Regions from separate parts of the Homo sapiens genome. Here regions 1, 2 and 3 are each linked to region 4. Evidence: promoter capture Hi-C in 16 types of primary human blood cells and fetal thymus (Javierre and others, 2016). All regions are on one chromosome and are shown on one strand. Each heading gives the region's core, a stretch centred on a gene start or on the middle of the fragment in contact. The rest is flanking DNA. Distances are from core to core; before and after follow the strand shown. Region 1 holds the start of OR6X1 (olfactory receptor family 6 subfamily X member 1). Region 2 holds the start of OR8B12 (olfactory receptor family 8 subfamily B member 12). Region 3 holds the start of OR8D2 (olfactory receptor family 8 subfamily D member 2). Region 4 has its middle 13 kb from the start of OR10G7.

Region 1 (5,351 bases), core at 2,617-5,116, 300 kb before region 4:
GCTAGGCCCAGAGAAACTAATATTTATGAGATTTGAAGGCAAATTTTTAAAAACTTTTTTAAAATAATAATATAACCCAGATGTTCCAACACCTCTAGATTTAGGTTACCTTGAGTACTTGCCCAAGCCCCTGCAAATGTGAAGTGCTTCCTAAAATTTCTGCGTATTCTGTGGCCATCTCTGTGAGATTCTCTATGGGCTGTTTCTAATCCAAATTATGTCATTCCAGACATGAAACGTTATTCCTCCTTGACTCACACACAACGCACACATATATGAATGCATGTGACATGCATGTTCTGTTCATACATGCATTTGGTAATATAGAAGACTTTACTGAAGGTTTGAGGGGGAGACAGATTAACATTGTAGAAATGTGACTTCAAACTGAGCATTAGGCATCCCCATTCTTAAACTGCTTTCTAGGTGCCCTGACGCTGGGGAATTTCCACTGACTTCTTCCCACAGACTCCTCTGCTTTGCTCCATTTTGGGGTTCCTTTTTTCTTCCTTTCTCTGTCATTTTCTTTTTTGAGAAATATTAACTATTACCTTTTTTTCCTCATTCAGGGCACTCTAAACCATTCTTTGATGACAGAGCTCATGATAATATTGATGTCCTTAGGTTCTCTCTCTTCCTTTATCTCCAAATGATCTATTTCTCCTGCACAGCTCCAAGACAGTTCCCTCTCTAAGAGAAAATCAGGTACAGCAGTTGAGATAATAATATTTTTGCCTCATTACATTTTGTTTTGAATTTTCAATTCAATATTAAAAGGAATGTGTGCAGTGTTGATGAAAGGAGTCAAACTCTGCAAAATATTGGAAGAGATTTATTCTGAGCCCAATATGAGTGACCATGGCCTGTGGCACAGCCCTCAGGAGATCCTGAGAACATGTGCCTAAGGTGGTTGGGGCACAGCTTGGATTTATACACTTTAGAGAGACATGAGACATCAGTCAGATACATTTAAGGTATACATTGGTTCTGTCCAGAAAGGCAGGACAACTTGAAGTGGGGAGTGGGGGGCTTCCAGGTTATAGGTAGATTTAAAAATGTTCTGATTGGCAATTGGTTGAAAGAGTTACTATCAATAGAAAGGAATGTCTGGGTTATGATAAGGGGTTGTGGAGACCAAAGTTTTATCATGCAAATGAAGCTTCCAGGTAGTAAGCTTCAGAGAGAATAGATTGTACATTTGTAAATGTTTCTTATCACACTTCAGGTCTGTGTTGATGTTAAATGCTGGTTGGCTTTTCCTGAATTCCAAAAGGGAGGAGGGCATAATGAGGTGTGTCTGACCCCTTCTTCCCGTCATGACCCAAACCAGTCTTTCAGGTTAACTTTGGAGTGCCCTGGCCAAGAGGAGGAGTCCATTCAGATGGTTGAGAGGCCCTTAGAATTTGGTTTACAGCAGTAATTTTTTTTTTTAGTCATAGTTTTAATGGTCTTTTAATGCTAGTTTTTCTTTACTGTTGGGAAGAGACATATCTAATACTCATTATCACAAACTGAATCACCTGCATCATCATTCCCTAAAAAGATATCTTGCCTGAAGACAAGGGTCAGATCAGTAGGTTTGTAGCCTACTTTGAGGGACTTTGCACACTAACCCTGAAACCAGCCCAATTGTTCCACACAAAAGATATTTATGGATTTTTAAATGAACACAGAAATTGACACTCTGTCTTAAAACCTGAAACTTACATTTGTCTTAACTGAGTTCCTTCCTCAGGAAACTGACCCTCAGGCAAGAGACTGAAACCCACTAGATCACCAATCCGGACAACAAGATGCCAGGCCCCTCATTCATCATGATGGCTTCCTTACCCCTCCCTAATTCCTATTTTCTCACCTTACCAGCTCTTCTTCCTTACCCCTCTCTAACTCCTATTCTCCCTCCCTTCCACTATATATAAACCTCCCAAATTTAGTTGGTTGGGGAGATGGATTTGAGACTCTACCTCCCATTTTTCTTGGCTGCAGCATTCAGTTAAAGCCTTCTTCCCTGGCAATGCTCAGTGACTCAGTGATTGATGTTCTGTGCAGCAAACACCAGGACCTGACTGAACCCTGGGGGTTTTGGTGACAATCCTACATGTGAGCCCTGAACTTCATGTAACCTTGGGGCTGCATTTTCCAGTAGGAAAGTGTTTCTAGATATATTGGCTCTGAGACTTTTCCTAGCTTCCTAGGTACATGGTCTACTTATATTGGAGCCCAGAAACTGCTGTAATCCATGAACTGCAAATGGAAATTTTTTACAAGATGTTCTCAAGTTTTGGTATTATCTGAGGATGAACACCTCTAAGTTTATCTAAAAATTTGTATTATTTCAAGATGGAAGTCCCCTTATTGAGATATTATCAAACAAAAAGCTGATTCATTTCAAATATTTTGGAAGGACCATTAGAATTATTAGAAGTCTGTAGCGTGCTTCTCTCATGATAAAGATGATAGGAACTAAGAAAATGAGATGTGGAATGTTTTATGTTTTTGACAAGAAGATGAGGCAAAGAGGGTGGTCATAAAAAAAAAGATGGTGGTCATAAATAAAGAGGGAGACAGGATTCCTTATACATTTTTAAAGTTGTTGACATTTGTCTCTGACCTTAGTGGTTTCTACTTTCAGTTTGCAGTTGACAAGTCCAGAGTTCTACTTCATGCATCTGAGGATATACTGGGACTTCCTTGTTGAAGAATTACATTGTTTCTTCTCAAGAAAAACTCCTAGTTCATTTACATGTAACAAGTTCTCATGGGAGACCTTAACCATCATGGTTTGCTTTTGCATCTTTATCTTACTATAGCATTGAATCAGAACTTCTGGGATTTGGGGGGAGCCTGTTTTACCAAACTTCTCCAAAATCCTCTCTCAACTTTCATTGTTTTTATCTGCATTAAGCTCACTTTGATGTGTTGCATGTTTTACTTTGCATGACCAGTCTTTGGGCAAGTCATTGCCTTTCTTAAGGCTCCCTTCACCTCCTTGTTTCTAATAGTATAAATAAAGGGATTCAGAAGGGGGGTGAGGATAGTATTTAGCACAGACACCACCTTATTAATCTTAAAGGAGGAGTGTGCTGTGGGTCTTAGGTACATGAACAGAACAGCCCCGTAGAGCAGGGAGACAACTGTCAGGTGCGAGGCACAGGTAGAGAAAGTCTTTTGGTGGCCAGTGGCTGAAGGAATTCGTAGGATTGCGGACAGAATGTAGATATAAGAAATCATATTAAAGAGAAGTGACCCTGGGATCACAAGGATGGTTGCTATGACGCCCAGGAGTTCCAAAATGCTGGTGTCTATGCAGGCGGCTTTCAAACTGGGCCCAACATCACAGTAGAAATGACTGATAACATTATTGCCACAGAATGGCAACTGGATGAGCAGCATCGTCTGACAAAAGACAATGGTGAAGCCCACCACCCAGGAGCTCAGGGCCAGCTGCAGGCAGAGTTTGCTGGTCATGATGGTGGGGTGGTGAAGGGGATTGCAGATGGTGAGGTAGCGGTCAAAAGACATGATAGTGAGGATCAAGAACTCGGTGGTGCCCACGAAGAAGTGGAAGAAGGCCTGCAGCAGGCAGCAGGACATGCAGATTACTGTTCTTGCCACTACAAAGGTTCCTAGCAGTTTGGGGATGACTGTGGTGGTGTACCAGATTTCTAAGAAAGACAAGTTACAAAGGAAGAAGTACATTGGAATTTGTAGCCTGGGCTCAGCCCACACAGTGGCAATAATAAGCCCATTGCCTGCAAGGGTTAATATGTAGGTGAGAAAGATTGCAATAAAGAGAGGTGTTTGTAGGCCTTGGATAACAGGAAAGCCTAGCAGGATGAATTCTGTGATTACTGTGCCATTTCTCATGTCCCTTGATACCCTAGAAAGACAAGCAAGAAAGCTCCTTAGAATCTTAGAGCACAGTTGATTATAGTTGGGACAAAAAATAAGGAGGATTCTGACTATGTAAGGTCCTTCGGGACCTGACTCTATTTCAGGTCCTCCCTCACCCACATACAAATACGCACTGGCCACCCCTTCTTTACTGATGATTTGGCTGGTTCTTTTGTCAGCAAAACCAGCTTCTAATGGACTTTGAATGTATTAAAAACACTTGATGAATGCAAAGTGTTTTTTCACCCTTATACAACTATGAGAATAATCATGTGAAATGTGGTTGCTTCTTGTCAATTATTCATATAACTATTTTCAATGCATAGTGTGTATACCAACTTATGTACGTAAACGTGGCTGTGAGTTCATAAGAAATTAATCCCTATTCTCAGAGTCTGAAAAAGAAGTTACTGATTACATTACAGATACGTTTAAGGAAGCCATTATTGTGTGTGGGTGTGAGTGTGTGTCTTAAAATAACCCCAAATCATTGCTATTATATTAGTGGTGAGATAAAGTTAGATAACAGAAGAGGTGTTTTTCTGAAGAATCCACTTCCACATTCTAGTTCAGACTCCTTTGCTAAAGGTATCAAAAATAACATTTAAAACTAAATGAATAAAACTGTTTAGGAAGTAGAGAAATATTCAACTCAAATTCAAAATTTCAGAACAAGCTGAGTCAAAGCCTGTTATATGGAAGCACCTAATAAATGTACATGGGATAAAGATCTGCAGACACTAATCTACAAAAGTGAAAGGTTAGCAAATGCTAAGGATAACAAAATGGGAACTCTGAAAAGTACATTTTTGTCAAAATTTTTTTTGTGACTAAATGTCTTTTTATACCAAGTAAAGTATTTCTATTTGTATATGCAAATTCATGGGCTGAGAACATCCTTTCTGTTCTACCAAAATTCAGTAGAAAATAGTAAAACTACTTCCTTTCTTATTGAGGCTATTCTTCCATGTGGGTTTCCTTTGAAATGGGTGAGACAAATTACTGTGAAATGAATTTCACATTTTTCAAAGTACATAAGAAGCTTAGCATGAAAGAGGCAACTTACAGGTCATTGATAGGTTGTTTCATTCTTCCCTCATGTGAGATAACTGTAATTCTCTGAGGGCTTGCTTAGGGAAGAAAAACACTTCCATTTTCTCCCACCTCTTTTCTAGACCAGGAAAAGATTCTTTGTCTACAATGTCACAAGCTCTAGTGCCTTTCCACAAAACGATGAGAGACAGAGAAGTATTTGAATTTGCACTAATGGCCAATATAACTGGCCACGAACGTGATCTCTTTATATAGGATAGATATGGAATTATCTTCATTCCCCATGCAGAGAAGAGTGGCAATCTCTATAGCTCAATATAACATTTCCAAGGGCTACACATTCTACCATTTGGAGAATTAGACCTATGAATTCCACAAGCATTTGTTGAGAGCTTACTATGCTT
Region 2 (5,492 bases), core at 996-3,495, 490 kb after region 4:
CTCTTTCCTATTCCACGCTGACTAAAGAAAAATCTTTCCCACCACACACACACACACACGTACACACACACACACTCTCAGTCTTATGACTTCAAGCCCTTCGTGTCATACCAAAGAACAAAACTACACCCTCATCTAAACTTCCCTTTTTCCCAAAGAATATTCCCAAGGAAAAGCTCAGAAATCAAAGTGTCTCCCCAGCACTTAACATGGTTAATGCTAATCCAAAGAACCTTCCTTTGCTACTAATAAATTATTTAGATCAAAGTGTATTGATCTGGCGTGTTCTATAACTATCATTATATGTTGTGGGTTTACAACCCAGTCTTGGATGAATTATCTTTTACCACATATGTTTATATGAGTGCAGTCTGCAGTACCTTAAAATTCAATGGAAATTGCCTCTTTTAATAATCAGCTGCTTAGTGCTGTTTTAATAACTAACTAGATTCTCAACATTATTTACTTCGCCTCGAAAACTTCCAGACCCTTAGTTGATTATCCTAAGCCACATATTTCTCCATCACAGCTCAAACACCCAAACTAACCCTTGAAAAAGCTCTACATTCTGATTCTTTAAGTTTTCAAATGAATGTATGATTTCTACTCAGCATCTTTATAACCCTTAATCCTATGGAAGTCCTAATTCCCTAGACTGGGTTCCTAGGGTTCCACACAACCTCAATCTTAACTCAATGTCAGTCACATTCTACAAACTTGACACAATTCTCTTCTCATTTGGTGAAGACCAACTTAAGAAAATGTTTCATCTTCTATCCTCTTGAAAAAAAATGAAATATTTAAAAATTATTTATTGAGAGGTCACATTAAATTACTATGAATAGAATTAGGTTTTAATGTGTTAAGTTTTCTTACTTTTAAAAGGATATCTGCAAGGGCAGCAATGAAGCATGAAAAAATGACATAAAGAAAAAAAAAGCAGCCTGGAATTCAAGGACCTGGATTCCATTCCCAGTTGTGGCACCAAGTAGTTGTGTGTCCTTGAGCAACATATGTATTTCTGAGTCTCCAACACATGTTAATTGAAGAGACTAGATTAAATAATGTGTAAGGCCAATTCACGATTAAATGGTCTATGATTATAGAAAAATTTGCATAAAATGAAGAAATCCTGGAATAACTAGGTGAAGCAGAGACAGGGAGAATATGTCTGCACTTAACACTCATCCAAATGTAAAGATTTAAAATTCTTTTTCTGTACAAGACAGGAAAAAAATGGAACTTGAATCTCACTGAAAACACACACTAATAAGCAAAGCATTGTATCTCCTTCCTCCAATACTAATCCTTTCTTAAGAAAAGATTTTTCTGCCCAAAGTTCTCCTCAGGGCAACTTTGACATCCTTGTTCCTCAAGCTATAGATTAATGGGTTTAACACGGGGACTATTATGGTATAGAACAGGGAGGACACTTTCCCTTGCTCGAGGGGCAGGATGGAAAGGGGTTTGAGATACATGAAAGCACCAGAACCAAAGAAAAGAGAAACTACAATTATGTGGGAACTGCAAGTACTAAAGGCTTTGGACCTGCCTTCTGTAGAACTGTTGTGTAGAATGCTGGAGAGGATGAGGGCATAAGAAATAAAGACAGTGACAATGGGCATTCCAACGTCAACAGCCACCACAATAAAGACCACCAGCTCATTCATGTAAGAGCTGTTGCAGGAGAGCTCAAGGAGAGGAAGGATGTCACACATGAAATGATTGACAAGGTTGTCAGCACAGAAGGTCAGGTTCATTATGCTTCCTGTGTGGGCCATGGCCCCAGCAAACCCCATCCCATAGGCACCCAACAAAAGGAGCAAACACACCTGGCAAGACATGGTGACTGTGTACAACAGTGGGTTACAGATGGCCACGTAGCGGTCATACGCCATCGCTGACAGGATGAAGGACTCAGAGACGACAAAGAAGCAGAAGAAGAAGAGCTGAGTCATACACCCTGTGAAGGAAATGATGTTCTTCCTTGAGACAAAACTCATCAGCATTTTGGGAGTGATGGTAGTGGAGAAACAGAAATCTATTAAAGAGAGGTTAAAAAGGAAGAAGTACATGGGAGTGTGCAGGTGAGAGTTCAGCCCAATCAGGGTTATCAAGCCCAGGTTCCCCACCACGGTGACCGTGTAGAAACCCAGAAACAGGAAGAAGAGGGGGATCCGCAGTCCCGGCTGGTGGGTTAAGCCTTCGAGGATAAACTCTGTCACAGAAGAGTTTTTGGCTGCCATTCTTTTTGGTCAGGCAGGAGAGTCGGAGGGGACAAGAGAAGAGGACCACTTAGAAAGAAACATCACCACCACATTCTTAGTCTCTATCTCCCATTCTTAGAAAAGGAATCCAAGGAGAGAGATTTGAACTTTGGTAGGAAGGTTTTTACCACTCACTGTGGGTCTATCTTCACAGTCCGAGTGATTATAACTCCCAAAGTGTAATATGAGACTCAACTGTAACTGCAGAATGAGAGCTGGATCTGCTGAAGAAAGGGGTACCAAAAATAATCCAAATGTCTTTTAGATCCTTAGGTCAGTCCCTTTTCTATATCTTTCCCTCTCCTGTCTCTGCTTCACTTGGTAAAACCTGGACCTCTTCCCTGAAGGGAATCCTGAGATGCAGAAGCCACAGTGGCTCTGCTCAGAGCTTCCACCTCTGGGTCCACACTGTCAGATTAAGTAGGTGAGCTCATGCTTTTCCAAGATCTCTTAGCTCAAGTGGCTGTACATTTAATAATTTTTTAAAGCTGACACTTATTGAGTGGTTACTATAAGAGGTTCTGTTTGAAGAGCCATGTAGCAATATTATTATCTTCATTTTACAGATGAAACAAGTAAGATGACATAACTAGACAAAAGTCCCCAAACCACCTGCAGCCAGAAGGTGAATTTCGGCAGTATGGCTCAAATGGCTTGCACTTGAAATCACCATGTTACATAAGTGACCAGCATCGGGGCAGGCACTCACCTTCCTTCCCTTTAGAGCCATAAATGCTATACTCTACTGCCTCTTTTTCACATTCTGGGGAGGAAGATGACCCTAGTGAAGACAAGATGACAGATCTGAGCTCAAAGCCCTCTCTTCCCAGTACAGGTCAAAGGATCAGAACCTCTAATGTATCTCATAACACTTCCTGCACTGAAGGACATGACTTCCAATTGTTCATTTGCCCAAAGGCCTCTCCAGCTTCCAGGAAGGAGACAAAGCTTTTTCCTGACCAGTGAATAACAAAAGACTAAAGAGTTTTATTCTGGATTACAGACCTCAATGATCTGGCCATTAAGATAGAGACTCCCTCAAGACCACTTGCTTAGCAATTAGTTTCCCTAGAGAAGAAGAAATGTTTGTTTATCTCTTGGAATTGCTTGATTTGGCTTTCTACTAACATGTATCCTGTACTATTAAGAGAAAATCATTGTGAAAAAAATGATTGTCATTACCATTTCTTGAATACCCAATAATTTAGTACCTGACATAGTACCCTTATTCCAGCTGCCAAGATCCAGAGTACACATATACAAACATATCTTTATTTATTTCTCACAATACCTATTTTACAGGTAAGTTGCTCACAGAGACAAGATGTTTCAGAGTCCACAGGTATGCTTAGGTCTGTCTGACTCCAAGCCCCTTATGTAGCTGCTAGACTAAACTACCTCCCAAGGACAGCTACTGAAATCCATAAAGCAGAGCCCTTGCCTTCTTGGATCTGACAGTCTCTTGGAAAATAACAAGTAAATATTCAATGAATTTAAGTTTTAAAAGGAAGCAATTAGAGCCTGGAAAGGTTAACACAAAGGGCTATTGTAATTTAGAATAGGCTATTCAATAATTTATTCATATTCCACTCACCTCAGGAATTAATTGCACTACTCTAGTCCCAGCTCAGACAAGAACATACTTCTCTCGTTCCCCTCCCCTGTCCTCTCATGGAGTGTATGTTTAATGGTAACAAGAATCCCTATCAGGTAACTGCTCTCAATGTCTACCAAGACCAGCCTTTCTCTAAATTAATAACTAGTCAAAATTCCCTCTGGCTGTCCCTGCCTTCCACCCACTTTTCTTTGAGCACTTCTCCCAACTGACTTTCCATCTGTTCAGTGCCCTCAAACTGAGTCCTAGTAGACCAGACTCCCACTGCAGGAACACATCCACATTTGTTCTTCCTCTTTGGTTTGCATTTGTCTTTTTCTGTCTTTTACTCCATACCTCCAAGCTCTGCCTGGATTAAAATCGTCTATCCTATGTCTCTGTCTCTAAGATATTTACTTATTTTCTTTAACATCAAACCAACAAACTCATAAAATTTTAGACCCGAAAAGACTTGAGAGAGTATCTCATCCAGTGTTTCCCAAACCTAGCTGGTTATCACAATTATCTAAAATATTCATTAAAAAGAAATGCTGGGCTCCAACCATACCTTTGGAATCAGAATCTCCATAGATATGGATATGGTGGCTGTGTTTTTTTAAAATCTTCCCAAGCATTTCCAATGCCAGGAACTGATAGATTCACAGAACTATTATTTGCCCTCATCTTACAGGCAAAGACCTCTAAAAAGTTCAAAGAAGTAAAGCCATTCACCCAAGGTCACAGATCTCTTCTAAGTCTCCGCATTTCCAATCTCTCCTCATCCATTAACTCACCTGACCTTCATTTTGGCTGGAATGTAAAACACAAATAATGGAAACATAAGTTATGAGACTTTTTATTTCAAGTGTGATGGTATAGCTATTATTGCACTTACCCCTCTGACCACAAAAAAAAAGAAAGAAAAAAAAAGGCTGGAAAAAGTGTATAAAGCAACTATTTGCAATACTTGGAAAGTAGACAACACAGGGATGAAATTCTTGAGAAAAGGCAAAAAAACAAGGTAACTAACACATTCACCCCAACTTTCTCTAAGGCCAGTTTCTAAACGATGCATAGTAAAGTGATGCCCCAACAAATGGCAGCAGCTTCTACTAGTGGAATGAAAAAGTGTAAGGAGGCTAAGACAGCTGGAATGTGTGGGGCAAGGAATGGAGAATAAAAAGCCAAAAAAAAAAAAAGGACCCTCAGGTACCTGCACAAAGGACTCCCTTAAGTTCTTGGCTGAATCCTAAATTTTATATCTGGAGGGCAAGGTTCTACCGGCTTAGGAGACAACAGCTGCTGGGGGCTAAGAACTGAACAGAGATCACAGAGGATCCACAGTGCCTGATATAAATTAGAATTCTGACCTACTGAAAATGGAGAGGCCTTGGTCAGCAAACCAGGCTTTAAGTGAGACCCCTGAAAAGTCATACACTAAGAGTAAATACTATTCCTTTGTGCTAAGGGCAAAACTGAATCATAACAAAGGCTAAATCCAGGTCTTAACATGATCAGAGGGAACTACTAGTAAATTAACTACATCCCAGAACAAAATTTAACACTCTGTAACAAAGGCCAACATAATCCACTGTCTCTAAAACATATCCACAGTGTCCAATATCATAAAG
Region 3 (5,431 bases), core at 1,624-4,123, 270 kb after region 4:
ATAATTTTCATTGTAGAGATATTTCACTTCTTTGGTTAATTTCTAGGTATTTTATTTGAGTTGTAGGTATTGTAAATAGGATTACTTCTTAAATTTCTTTTTCAGATTGCTCACTGTTGGCATGTAGAAATGCTACTGATTTTGTATGTCAACTTTATATCTTGCAACTTTACTGAGTTTGTTCAGTAGTACAAAATGAATTTAAACTTTTCTGAACAATTTGAACTTCTCTGAAAAGTTCAAAAAGTCCAGAAAAAAAGTTCAAATTGAATTTGAACTTTTCCAAATCAGTTCTAATAGTTTTTTTTGGTGGCATCTTTAGGCTTTTCTAAACATAAGATCATGTCATCTGCAAGCAACGATAACTTGACTTCTTCCTTTCTAATTTGGATGCCCTTTCTTTCTCTTGTCTGATTGCTCTAGTTAGGACTTCCAAACAATTAGTTCTGATTTATGGGAACTTGTAAAGTGGAAGAAAAAGAGAAAGGGAATAAAAGAGATTATAGGAAAGGGGGAGTAGGCATGTTCAGATAGTGGAAAGGATAAAAAGAGATGGAATAGAAAGTATCAGAAGGTGATGAAATGAATGGATCATAAAACCTCAGTGTTAGCAATGAACAAAGGGATCAGTTTGGTCATATTCTTAGCCAGCATTTGATTCTTCTCAGAAATATTCCAGACAGAATGGTTGAATATTCTGTCTGGAATATGTACTTAAATCCCTACTGCTGGATAGTTCATAAATTCCCAAGATAGCTAATTATTTTTTGATAGTTCTGATTTTTGGAAGAGTCTTCTTTAGCCTACTTGTGCTCTGTGGCAAGAACTACTAAAACCTCAATAACTAGCCTACAGCCCTTCTGTGTGTAACTCCTATGTGTAACTTAATTATCCTCTAATATCTGTGAGCAATTTCTATCCTCTTGGCTTTATTTTCTAAGACATTTTATGATCTGAGATTCTATGATGTATTTTTCTCCCTGTTTATTGCCTTTCTTTCAGGCTAAAACCTAAATCTAATGAAGGCAAGGAGTTTGTGACTTTTGTTCATCTCTTTATCACCAGTATGAGGAATAGTGACAGGTATGTAGTGGGCATTCAATGAGTATTCCTTAAATGAATGACCCAAAGAATAAACAAATCAATGAATGTGTGATTTCAAGTTGCTTCATCATGGCCATGCGTCTCAGAATATATTTCAGAATGCCAGTGGCCTCTTAAATAGTAATATCAACAAAGTAAATTACTTTCAAGTGGACACAGTCTAATTGCTGTTGTGCAAGTGATAACTAGAATGTTCCTCATTCTAAATACTAAAATGTAGCTAATGCAGACAAGGTAACAGTAACTTTCTAGGTAGTTATGCTTTTTACTTATATTGTCAAAAATCCTTAATTCTCTGGAGTTAAATAAAGTTTTTCCCACTCTCTCCATTTTTATAGAAGTATAGAATCTTATATTACCCATGTACATTTTTAAAATCTCATTAAATGCGACTATCACTCCAGCCTTTAAAAGTCTTTGTGAATCATGCTCTGTCATCCATTAAATCAACTATTTCAAGGCTGAGGATCGTGACTCAGGCTTCTAATTCCAGCACATTGGGAGGCCAAGTTTGGAGGATTACTTGAGGCCAGAAGTTCAAGACCAGCCTGGGCTTTCAAAAGTAATATGTTCAATAAATTGTTTTTAATGTTTATTTGCCCTTCCTCTTCTGTCATCTCCCATTTCTCTAATACATTTTCGAAGATTATATTGACCATCAGAAAATTTTGTTTCATAATCTCCAAAAATGTCTTAATCATTCTCTAATATAAAATATACATTTTTAAGTGATGATAATTTTTCTCTCTCCGAGAGAGACAGAAACTTACAAAGATCCTATAACAACTTTTTATATGGTTTATTTTTTCTGGCTGCCAATGAGAACCCTCTTTGTCAGGATGACTGCCTTCCCCTAGTCATCTTCTTCAGTGCATTTTTCACATCCTTGTTCCTCAGGCTATAGATTAGAGGATTCAGCATGGGGATTATTGTGATGTAGAACACAGAAGACACCTTCTCTTTTTCCATAGTAGTGCTGGAAGGGGGCTTGAAATACATGAATGTTATAGACCCAAAAAAGATGCCCACAGCCAAGAGATGGGAGCTACAAGTGCCAAAGGCTTTGGATTGCCCCTCAGTGGAATGAATACCAAGGATACTAGAGAAAATGAAAGCATAAGAGATAAGGACCGCCAGTGTAGTTGCTAAGGTATTAACTCCTCCAATAATGAACAGCAGAATCTCATTGATGTGGGTGCTGGAGCAAGACAGAGTCAATAAGGGGAGAATATCACAAAAATAATGACTGACCGTATGAGACCTACAGAATGACAACACTGACATGCGGGTAGTATGGACTGTGGCCCACAGAAAACCCAGTGAGTATACCACAGCCATCATTATGGAACAGACCCTGTGGGACATGACAATATTGTAAAGCAGTGGGCGACAGATAGCAACATAACGGTCATATTCCATGGCTGTCAGAAGGTAGCCTTCTGCAATTACAAAAATAAGGAAGAAATAAAGTTGAGTAATGCATTCCAGAAAGGAGATAATGTTCTCCTCTGGAACAAAGTTCACCAGCATCTTAGGGGTAATGACAGAGGAGTAGCAGAGATCAATGAAAGACAAATGACTGAGAAAATAATACACTGGAGGGTAAAGTTGAGAACTGAGAGCAATTAAGAAGATCATGCCCAGGTTCCCCACCACTGTGACCACATATATTCCAAGGAACAGGAGGAAGAGTGGCAGTTGAAGTTCTGGGCGTTGTGTCAAGCCTGCCAGGATAAACTCAGCCCCTGAAGAATGGTTTGAAGTAGCCATGTCTTTTAAGGTATTATGTGTAATAAGAAATAAGAGAAAAGAGAGACATTAGATTTATTTTCTGATTCCCAAAGCAGAATGACATGCCCCATGTTGGTTGCTTCCATTCCTGAGAGCCTCATCTGTCCCATGATTGCCTCTTTTCAGGGACCTCTTACAAGATCAAGGGCAAATATTATGAGTATAACCAAGAACCTTGATTTCACCCAAAACCCTGTTGAATGCTCCTCTTTTAGTAAGAGTCCTCCCATTTTGTTTCCAGGCTTATGCCCATAATTACCTCACTGCTGGAGGAAGCACAAACTTTCCAAATCTAATTAGTTTGTCATTGCTACCATTAAAACAACACTGCTTACCTTCTTTATCTGAGCATATGCCAATAGAACCTTCAGACTTTGTTACAACATGGCTTCTAATCCAGCTCTGATGATATAAAAGTAGTCCATTTCAGTTTCCTTACCCATCAACATGAATCAACATAATTAGCATTTGCTAAAACTAGGAAATAAGAAACATAAAAGACGTCTATAAAGAGACCTTAGTACAAAAAAAAAAAGTATGGAAATGGTTCTAATCAATTCTGACCCTCATTAGCTCACTTCTGTTCTTTGAATGGAAAACTTGAGTGGGCCAGGAGATTCTTGTACTCAGTGTGGATGTGGTTGACAGAAATGTTGTGCCAAGGGCTATCCTGAGATTCTAGTTTAGATCTTTCCTGTTCCAGAAACAGCAAAGAAGCAAAGAAGTAAGGCTGACTTTCAGGTGTAAGACCTGAACCATCAGCAACTCAGCGCTTCCCTCCTTGGCCCTTTCCTGCTATCCATTATTCATGGCCAAACTCTCACTGACCTTTCTCTTTCAAAGCTGTGAGATCTGAACTGGAGATTTCTTATTCCCTGACTTCGTTTCCCCTAAAGTTTAAGCAAAGGATTCAGGGTGTGTTGCTTTCAGCTGAAACACTGTATATTACCTAAGACATCAGGTTTCATAATTTTTTTCCAAAGTGAGAAAAAATGTCAAGGGAGGAAAAACTCCATACATAGAGTGAGATGTTGTTTGCTTTTATTTTGCATAAAAACATATTTTTATGATCACAAACAAAAATTTATAAAAATTTGCTTCTACAGTGTTTTAAGGGTACTCAATATGTATATCGATTTAAAAGCTGACAGGTGGGGTGTTATCTCCAAGAGCACTTGAGAAGACAGCCATGTTTCTGAATTAGGGGAATTAGAGAATACTCTAAGAGAAAGAGAATCAGAGTTACCAGAATGCAACTCTAACAAGCCCTGTTACGGGAAGTTCAGGAATTCTAGATTTTTAGCCTTACTTGGAAAAATATTCTACCAAATGACTGAATTAGCCAAAAAGAGAATTTGTTGAAGAAAAATAGCAGAGAGCTTATTTAGAGAGAGACAGTACACTCTGGAAAGGTGAGACAGAGCTGGCTGCTGAAGGGGAGTGAGCCAGCAGCAGCTTGAGAGTTCTGCACTGGGTTTTTGAGATGATGTCCGACACTTTCTTGAAGTTCCCACCTCTGTCGTGAGCCTCTGCCTTTTCCTTTGTCCAGGTTCCTGCTTCTGCCTTAAGTCCCCTTCTCTTCCCTGCCTAGTTCCCATGCCAGGCTTGTGGAACCCTCCCTTACTATTGGCTGATGTGCATGCATGGACCCTGTGTTGGATATGAATCCTGCCTAACAGCCGCATTGCCACCCAAGGGAGGCTGCTTAATAATAGGTCTAGTGATTGAAGCACATTCTTTCCTATATCCGTAACATTTCTATATTGATATATTCCCAAATTATTTTCATCACAGAACTATCACAAATAATGCCTAGAGTATTTCTTTTAGAAAAGACTATCTCAATAAAGTAGAAAGGTTAAGAATTTAAAATTACGTGCTATGGAATGAGAACTTTACCCTCTTTATTACTCATTAAGCTAAGCATAATGATATATAACATACTACTTTTTTTACTTTAAATTCTGGTGTACATGTGCAGAACGTGCAGGTTTGCTACATAGGTATGCATGTGCCATGGTGGTTTGCTGCACCCCAAATGCATTAGGTTTTAAGCCCCAAATGCATTAGCTGTTTGTCCTGATGCTCTCCCTCTACAAATTTATACCATGAGATTGTATTTATACTTTCTTCTCCCACAGACATCAAGAGTAATGACTACATTTATCATCTGGTGTGGTAAAGACAATCATCTCTTCCTTGCTATGATCTGAATTACTCTAAGTTTTTTAAAAGTGTTACCCTACCTCTGCCGATTCTCCTTTCTGTGAGCCATCTGTACTAGGAAGTTGTTCCCACATACTGAGGCCTTATTCTCAATCTTGTTCATGGATTAGTTTACTGTTCACTTGAGTATAGCTGTAATCAAAGTTTTATAACCTTATTGTATTGTGAAATTTAGCTTAAATACATATATAAAAATGTAGAAAATATATATACTTCCACCTACTATAAAATGAGCAGCTTTAACCACCATGCAGATCTATAAATAGAATATCACCAGCACCCCAGAGCCCTCTATGTGCCCCCTTTTTAT
Region 4 (5,793 bases), core at 1,908-4,407:
CTGAGAGATGTCAGGTCAAAATGAACACATATTTTATAATTCCACTTAAAAGAAATGTCCCCAAATGGCAAATATATAAAGAAAGAAAGTAGATTTGTGGGGGCCTAGTGTTGGGGATAGGAATGAGAATAACTATAATGATCGTGAGGCGTCTTTTTAGTGTGAGGGAAAAATTCTACAACTAGGCTGTGGTGATAGCTGAAAACTCCGTAAATATATATTCTTTGCAAATATGTATTTACTGAATTGTACATTTAAAATGGGTGAACTTTTATGACATATACATTACTTCTCAATAAAGCTTTTAAACACATAGAAATTATCACTAGTTAGAAAAATTTAAGATTTTATGTTGATCTAACACAAAACTAAAGAACAAGAAAATGGGTAGGAATGAGAGACTCTGCATGTTTACTTTTTAAATTCGTATTCAAAATATTTATTCTATTTTGTTAGAATTGGGCATAAATGTTAAATGCAGTCAGACTAAAACTCAAATCCAAGCTCTATGATTGACTTTTGGAGTCAACTTTGGCAACTGTTTTAACTATTTGAGCCCTATTTTTGTCTTTAAAAGAAAATTTAACTAATGGGGCCAATGCAAGAATAAAACAAAGGGGCCTTGGGCAGTCTGGTTTTTAAAAAAGAAAGATTCTCAGTAAGCAGTCATTACTGTTTTAAAACATGGAGGTGGCAGTCTCTTCTGTACTTTTTCTGGCATAAAGAAGCACAATAATTATAAAAATGCTGATAAACTTACTTATACAACAGTATAGTTGTAATTTCTGTGCCTTCTATATTTTCTCAAAGGGATTTTAGTCATAACATTTTTAATAAACCCATTTGCTTTTTGTTTGTTAGCCAGTAAAAATAACATGCTCACAGATGTACTTAATCTACCCTTGTCCACTCTGATCCATCCTCTACACAGCAGTCAGCAGACTGAATTCTTAAAATATACATCCAACCAAGTTACAGTAATTAATGTATGCTAAAATTAATGTCAGTAGCAGTCTTAAAGGAAAATAAAGAGAAAATGTGCATGTTCTCACTCATAAGTGAGAGTTGAACATTGAAAACACATGGACACAGAGGGGAACAACACACACCAGGGCCTGTTACGGGGTGGGGGTGAGGGGAGGGAACTTAGAGGACGGGTCAATAGGTGCAGCAAACCACCATGGCACGTATACCTATGGAACAAACCTGCACATTCTGCACATGTATCCTGTTTTTTTTTTAAGAGGAGACTAAAAAAATAAAATGAATAAAATATGAATTCAATCAGTTGTGGAAGTGATAATGGGGGATTATAAAGCAAATTGTAGAAAAAAACAGGTGCAGCTGTGTTTTGTTTTGTTTTTAGCATCAGATGGGATTGTTGCCTGTTTAAGTGGTTGCTTTCCTAATTTCTGGCTCTTTCTTCAAACCCAGATTCTCCAGGTAAAGGATCACTGGGCAATCTCAAACATCTGAACTTCATGGATGGCTCGCTCCTAGAGGAAAAACAGCCCAAGAATTATTGTTAATTAAAGAGCTTTAAACTGAATATAACTAAATACCACTGTATAATTGCATTTCAGTCTAAGAATTAATGAGGTAGATGCAGTGGGGAGAAAGAGAAGGGAAGAGAGGAACGCCTCCAGTCTAATTGCTTCCTTGGTTCCACACTTCCTTAGTGCCCATTAGGGAAGAGGGTCCCAAAGGAACTGAAGACTTTTATTCACTCTTGAGGGCTTGATTGCTGCTACTTCATTCAGGGGCCAGGGGCACTGAGATTTTCTGGCCTGGGTGGCTGAGTCTGAAAAAGAGGAACATTCGGCTTTTCTAGCCCCAGAGCCACAGATGATCCACAGCACCTAAAAGCAAAGGAAACAGGGCTGGGTGGACGTAGGGCCTGGTTTTCAGCCCAGGACAGCCACATTTCCCTTCAGTCTGTGAGTGCCTTTTCTCTGGAGTGCTCCCCTCTCATCTTCTGATGAGTTCTACGCACTAGAGGAAGGTGGGAAGAACGTGGGAATTGGCTCTGTTTGACTTTGGGCTAAATCTGACTTAGTTGACTCCATGGTATTTTATTGAGCTATTACCTGATTAATGAAGCTTAACCTTAGAAATTTTAGGAAATGAATAAGATGTAAAGTGATAATGGGGAATTATAAAGCTAATTCTAGGAAAAATGATGATTATTTGCAGTCAAGTCACAGATATAATTGCTATTGGACACTAAACTCTATTAAAAGAAATGGCTGTTTTTAATATCAGTAATTATCTATTGCTTTTTCCTACCTACATATCATCTTTTCTATTCTTTTATTTCTTTATTTTTATTTAAGTTATTTTTGGGACAGGGTCTCACTCTGTCACCCAGGCTGGAGTGCAGTGGCATGATTTTGGCTCACTGCAATCTCTGCCTTTTCAGCTTAAAGGATCTCCCCACCTCAGCCTCCCAAGTAGCTGGGACTACAGACATACACCACCACACTCAGCTAGTTTTTTCTTTTTCTTTTCCTTTTTTTTTAAATTTTTGAAGAGACAAGGCGTCACTGTATTGCCTAGGCTAGTCTCAAATCCCTGGGCTCAAGTGATCCTGCCACCTTGGCCTCCCAAGCTGCTGGGATTACAGGTGTGAGCCGCCATGCCCAGGCTTCCTTTCTGTTTTACACCCATTAGACAATTCTCAGTTTTCAGTTACTCTAGCTGCTGATTGAGAAAGCTGCCTCCCGGATCAGTCACATGAATGGGTAATCTCAGAACTGCTACAAGTCAACTTAGAGAAATGCTGTGGAATAAGGCACACATTAAATAATTTGATGAATAAATTTTTTAACAAAGATGGGTAGGAGCCAAAATTATATGGGTACTTTGCAGACATCAATGCATTAATGTACACAGGAACCATAATATATTATTTTACTATTTATATATATTCAGAAAAGATTTAAAGAGTTTTTTTCAAGGTCATCTGATGTCAGAGTGGGCAGCGTGTTTAGTATGTAAACTCAGATACTTCCAGTTGTAAAGTTTATTCTACACCTTCTCTTCTATATCAACTCTAGTGTTGTCTCTTCATTTTACTTATGAGGAAACAGATGAAAAATAGATTAATAACTTACCCAAATGTCACTCAATAATTAATGACAGGATTGAACTGAGTCTTATTTAGAAGTTCTCCACTCTATATACTTATTATCAGTTTGCGATAGGCTCTATAAAGAGTTTTTTGCAGGAAAAACTCATCTCAGTGAGGCCATTGTTTGATGTTCCAGGACTAATTTGACATGAAGATAAAGAATCACACTCCAGTAACTGAGGTCCCCCTGATGGGAATCCCTCATACAAAGGGGATGGAAAATGTGCTTTTTGTCTTATTTCTGGCCTTCTACCTCTTCACCTTGCTGGGGAACCTACTCATTCTTCTGGCCGTCCTCACTTTCTCCAACCTCCACACCCCCATGTATTTCTTCCTGGGAAACCTGTCTGTGTTTGACATATTTTTCCCTTCAGTGAGTTCCCCCAAAATGATGCTCTGCTTAGTGGGACAAAGCTGCACCATCTCTTTCCAGGGTTGTGCCTCCCAGCTCTTCTTTCACCATTTCCTGGGTTGCACCGAGTGTTTCCTGTACACTGTGATGGCCTATGACCGATTTGCAGCCATCTGCCACCCTTTGCCATACACGGTCATCATGAAACGCAGGGTGTGTGCCCTCCTGACGCTAGGCACCTGGACGGGGAGCTGTCTGCATGCATCTGTCCTCACACTCCTCATCTTTAAGTTATCCTACTGTGGCCCCAATGAAGTGGACAATTTTTTTCTGTGATATTCCGGTGGTGCTGCCCCTGGCCTGCGCAGACACCTCTCTAGCACGGACAGTGAGTTTCATCAACGTAGGTGTTGTTGCGCTCATGTGTTTTCTTCTTATCCTCACCTCTTATGCTTGCATTGTTATCTCTATACTGAAAATCAGTTCCTCAGAAGGTAGGCGCAGAGCCTTCTCAACCTGCAGTGCCCATCTGACGTCCATCCTGCTCTTCTATGGACCAATAGTCCTCATTTATCTCCGACCTGCCTCCAGCCCTTGGCTGGACTCTGTGGTTCAGGTGTTGAATAATATTGTTATCCCTTCCCTGAATCCTTTGATATATACTTTGAGAAACAAAGGTGTAAAGCTGGCACTGAGAAAGGTGCTCATTCAAGGAGTACATAATTGTGGAAGGTAAGCTTTATATCCTGGTCTGTCTTTACAGCTTTGTCTTGAATTTATCTGGGGGCAATTAGCTCCTATATTTTGTTTGATGACTGAGTACCAGGCGCTATTTACAAATACTGATACATGTAATGATTATAATAATCATATGAAGTAGATAATACTATTATCTCGATTTACGAGGGAAAATTAAGGCACTGAGAGGCTGAGATCTTTCTGCAGTGTCATGGAGTTAAAAACTTGCTGGGCGAAAATGTGACCCAAAGCGTCTTAACCATGTGCTAATGCTGCTTCTGTAGTGTCTAAATGGTAACATAAATACTTCTCTCAGGAGCTTCTTTTCGGTTTACACAGAATATTCTTCAATTTGCCAGCAAATCTAGTACATTAAATTTGCTCCATTGATTTCTATAACTTTTTTTGAGTCTATATTTTGATGGATGACATATGTCTGAGTCTGATACCAAGAAATTATCTGGCTGGGTATGGTGGCCTACGCCTGTAATCCCAGCACTTTGGGAGGCTGAGGCAGGCAGATCACTTGAGCTCAGGAGTTCAAGACCAGCCTGGTCAACATGGTGAAACCCCGTCTCTACTAATAATACAAAATTAGCCAGGCGTGGTGGTGGGCACCTGTAGTCCCAGCTACTCAGGAGGCTGAGGCAGGAGAATCGCCTGAACCTGGGAGGTGGAGGCTGCAGTGAGCCAAGATCACAGCACTGCACTCCAGCCTGGGCGATGGAACGAGAGACACTGTCTTAAAAATAAAAAAAAAAGAAAGAAAATAAAATCTCTTTAGAAGTCAATTAGTACCCATATATCCAAAAAGATGTATTAGTATAGGCTGTCTCTCAGGTAAACATATTATTTCTTTATAACAACAATTTCAATTCTGTAAGAGGATTACAAGTTTGCTTTCATTCAGTCAGGGACTAAATTTGAATTCCAGAACTTATGGGCCTTCAAAAATAATAGTCATTGTTTTCTCATGTAAATAGCTTCAAAGAAAACTAGGACACTGCAAAAAAGTAAAATGAGTAGAAATTACTCACTGATCCTACCACCAAGAGATAACCACTGTTAATATTTTGTCATTTTTCCTACCTCTCTCATTAGTGATTAAATTGGAATTAGGGTTTCTGACTTCTTGTTTAAATTTTTTTCATTTCTATCTATGTCATCTATATCTATATCTATATTTATATTATGTATCTATATATGTATATATTTTAGAGAGATTTATAGTTGTGATTAGCTCATATATATATTTTCTTGTTTTAATCATGTATCAAGAATTTTCAATTGCCATAATTTTTTAAATAGCTTTTTTGAGATATAATCACACACCAAATAATTTGTGAATTTGAAGTGTACAATTCAATGGTTTTTCATATATTTACATATGTACCACCTTTACCACAGTCAATCTTAGAACATTTTAATCACCACAGAAAATGTCCTATACCCTTTAACCATTACCTCCCTGTTCCCACATCACCCTTAGTAAGCAAACACTAATCAACTTTTTATATCTATAGACTTGCTTATTCTGGACATTACATAAAAGTTGAATCATATAATATGAACC

What was found. Contacts are between HindIII fragments. The CHiCAGO score rates a contact against its expected background, and 5 or more counts as called.
Region 1: the fragment with the promoter of OR6X1 here is called in contact with a fragment that was not itself captured in region 4 in 1 of 17 cell types (endothelial precursors); the score reaches 7.0 in endothelial precursors.
Region 2: the fragment with the promoter of OR8B12 here is called in contact with a fragment that was not itself captured in region 4 in 4 of 17 cell types (total B cells, erythroblasts, naive B cells and 1 more); the score reaches 9.5 in total B cells.
Region 3: a contact is called between the fragment with the promoter of OR8D2 here and a fragment that was not itself captured in region 4, in 1 of 17 cell types (erythroblasts). The highest score is 6.6, in erythroblasts.

The regions. Positions count from the first base shown.
Region 1 is chr11:123,750,652-123,756,002 of GRCh38, forward strand. OR6X1 (olfactory receptor family 6 subfamily X member 1) reads right to left here and starts at 3,867. Exons shown (of 1, transcript NM_001005188.1): 1 at 2,929-3,867. The coding sequence starts at 3,867. The coding sequence ends at 2,929. The HindIII fragment of the contact is 3,762 bases long and covers 1,173-4,934 here.
Region 2 is chr11:124,541,409-124,546,900 of GRCh38, forward strand. It overlaps OR8B12 (olfactory receptor family 8 subfamily B member 12), which reads right to left and starts at 2,246. Exons shown (of 1, transcript NM_001005195.1): 1 at 1,314-2,246. The coding sequence starts at 2,246. The coding sequence ends at 1,314. The HindIII fragment of the contact is 5,500 bases long and covers 1-3,213 here.
Region 3 is chr11:124,317,324-124,322,754 of GRCh38, forward strand. It overlaps OR8D2 (olfactory receptor family 8 subfamily D member 2), which reads right to left and starts at 2,874. Exons shown (of 1, transcript NM_001002918.1): 1 at 1,939-2,874. The coding sequence starts at 2,874. The coding sequence ends at 1,939. It overlaps LOC112268069 (a long non-coding RNA gene), which reads left to right. Exons shown (of 3, transcript XR_002957213.2): 2 at 1,003-1,083. The HindIII fragment of the contact is 6,670 bases long and covers 1-5,431 here.
Region 4 is chr11:124,051,515-124,057,307 of GRCh38, forward strand. It overlaps the pseudogene OR10D5P. Among named protein-coding and RNA genes, the nearest start is that of OR10G7, 13 kb to the left of the region's middle. The HindIII fragment of the contact is 2,119 bases long and covers 2,099-4,217 here.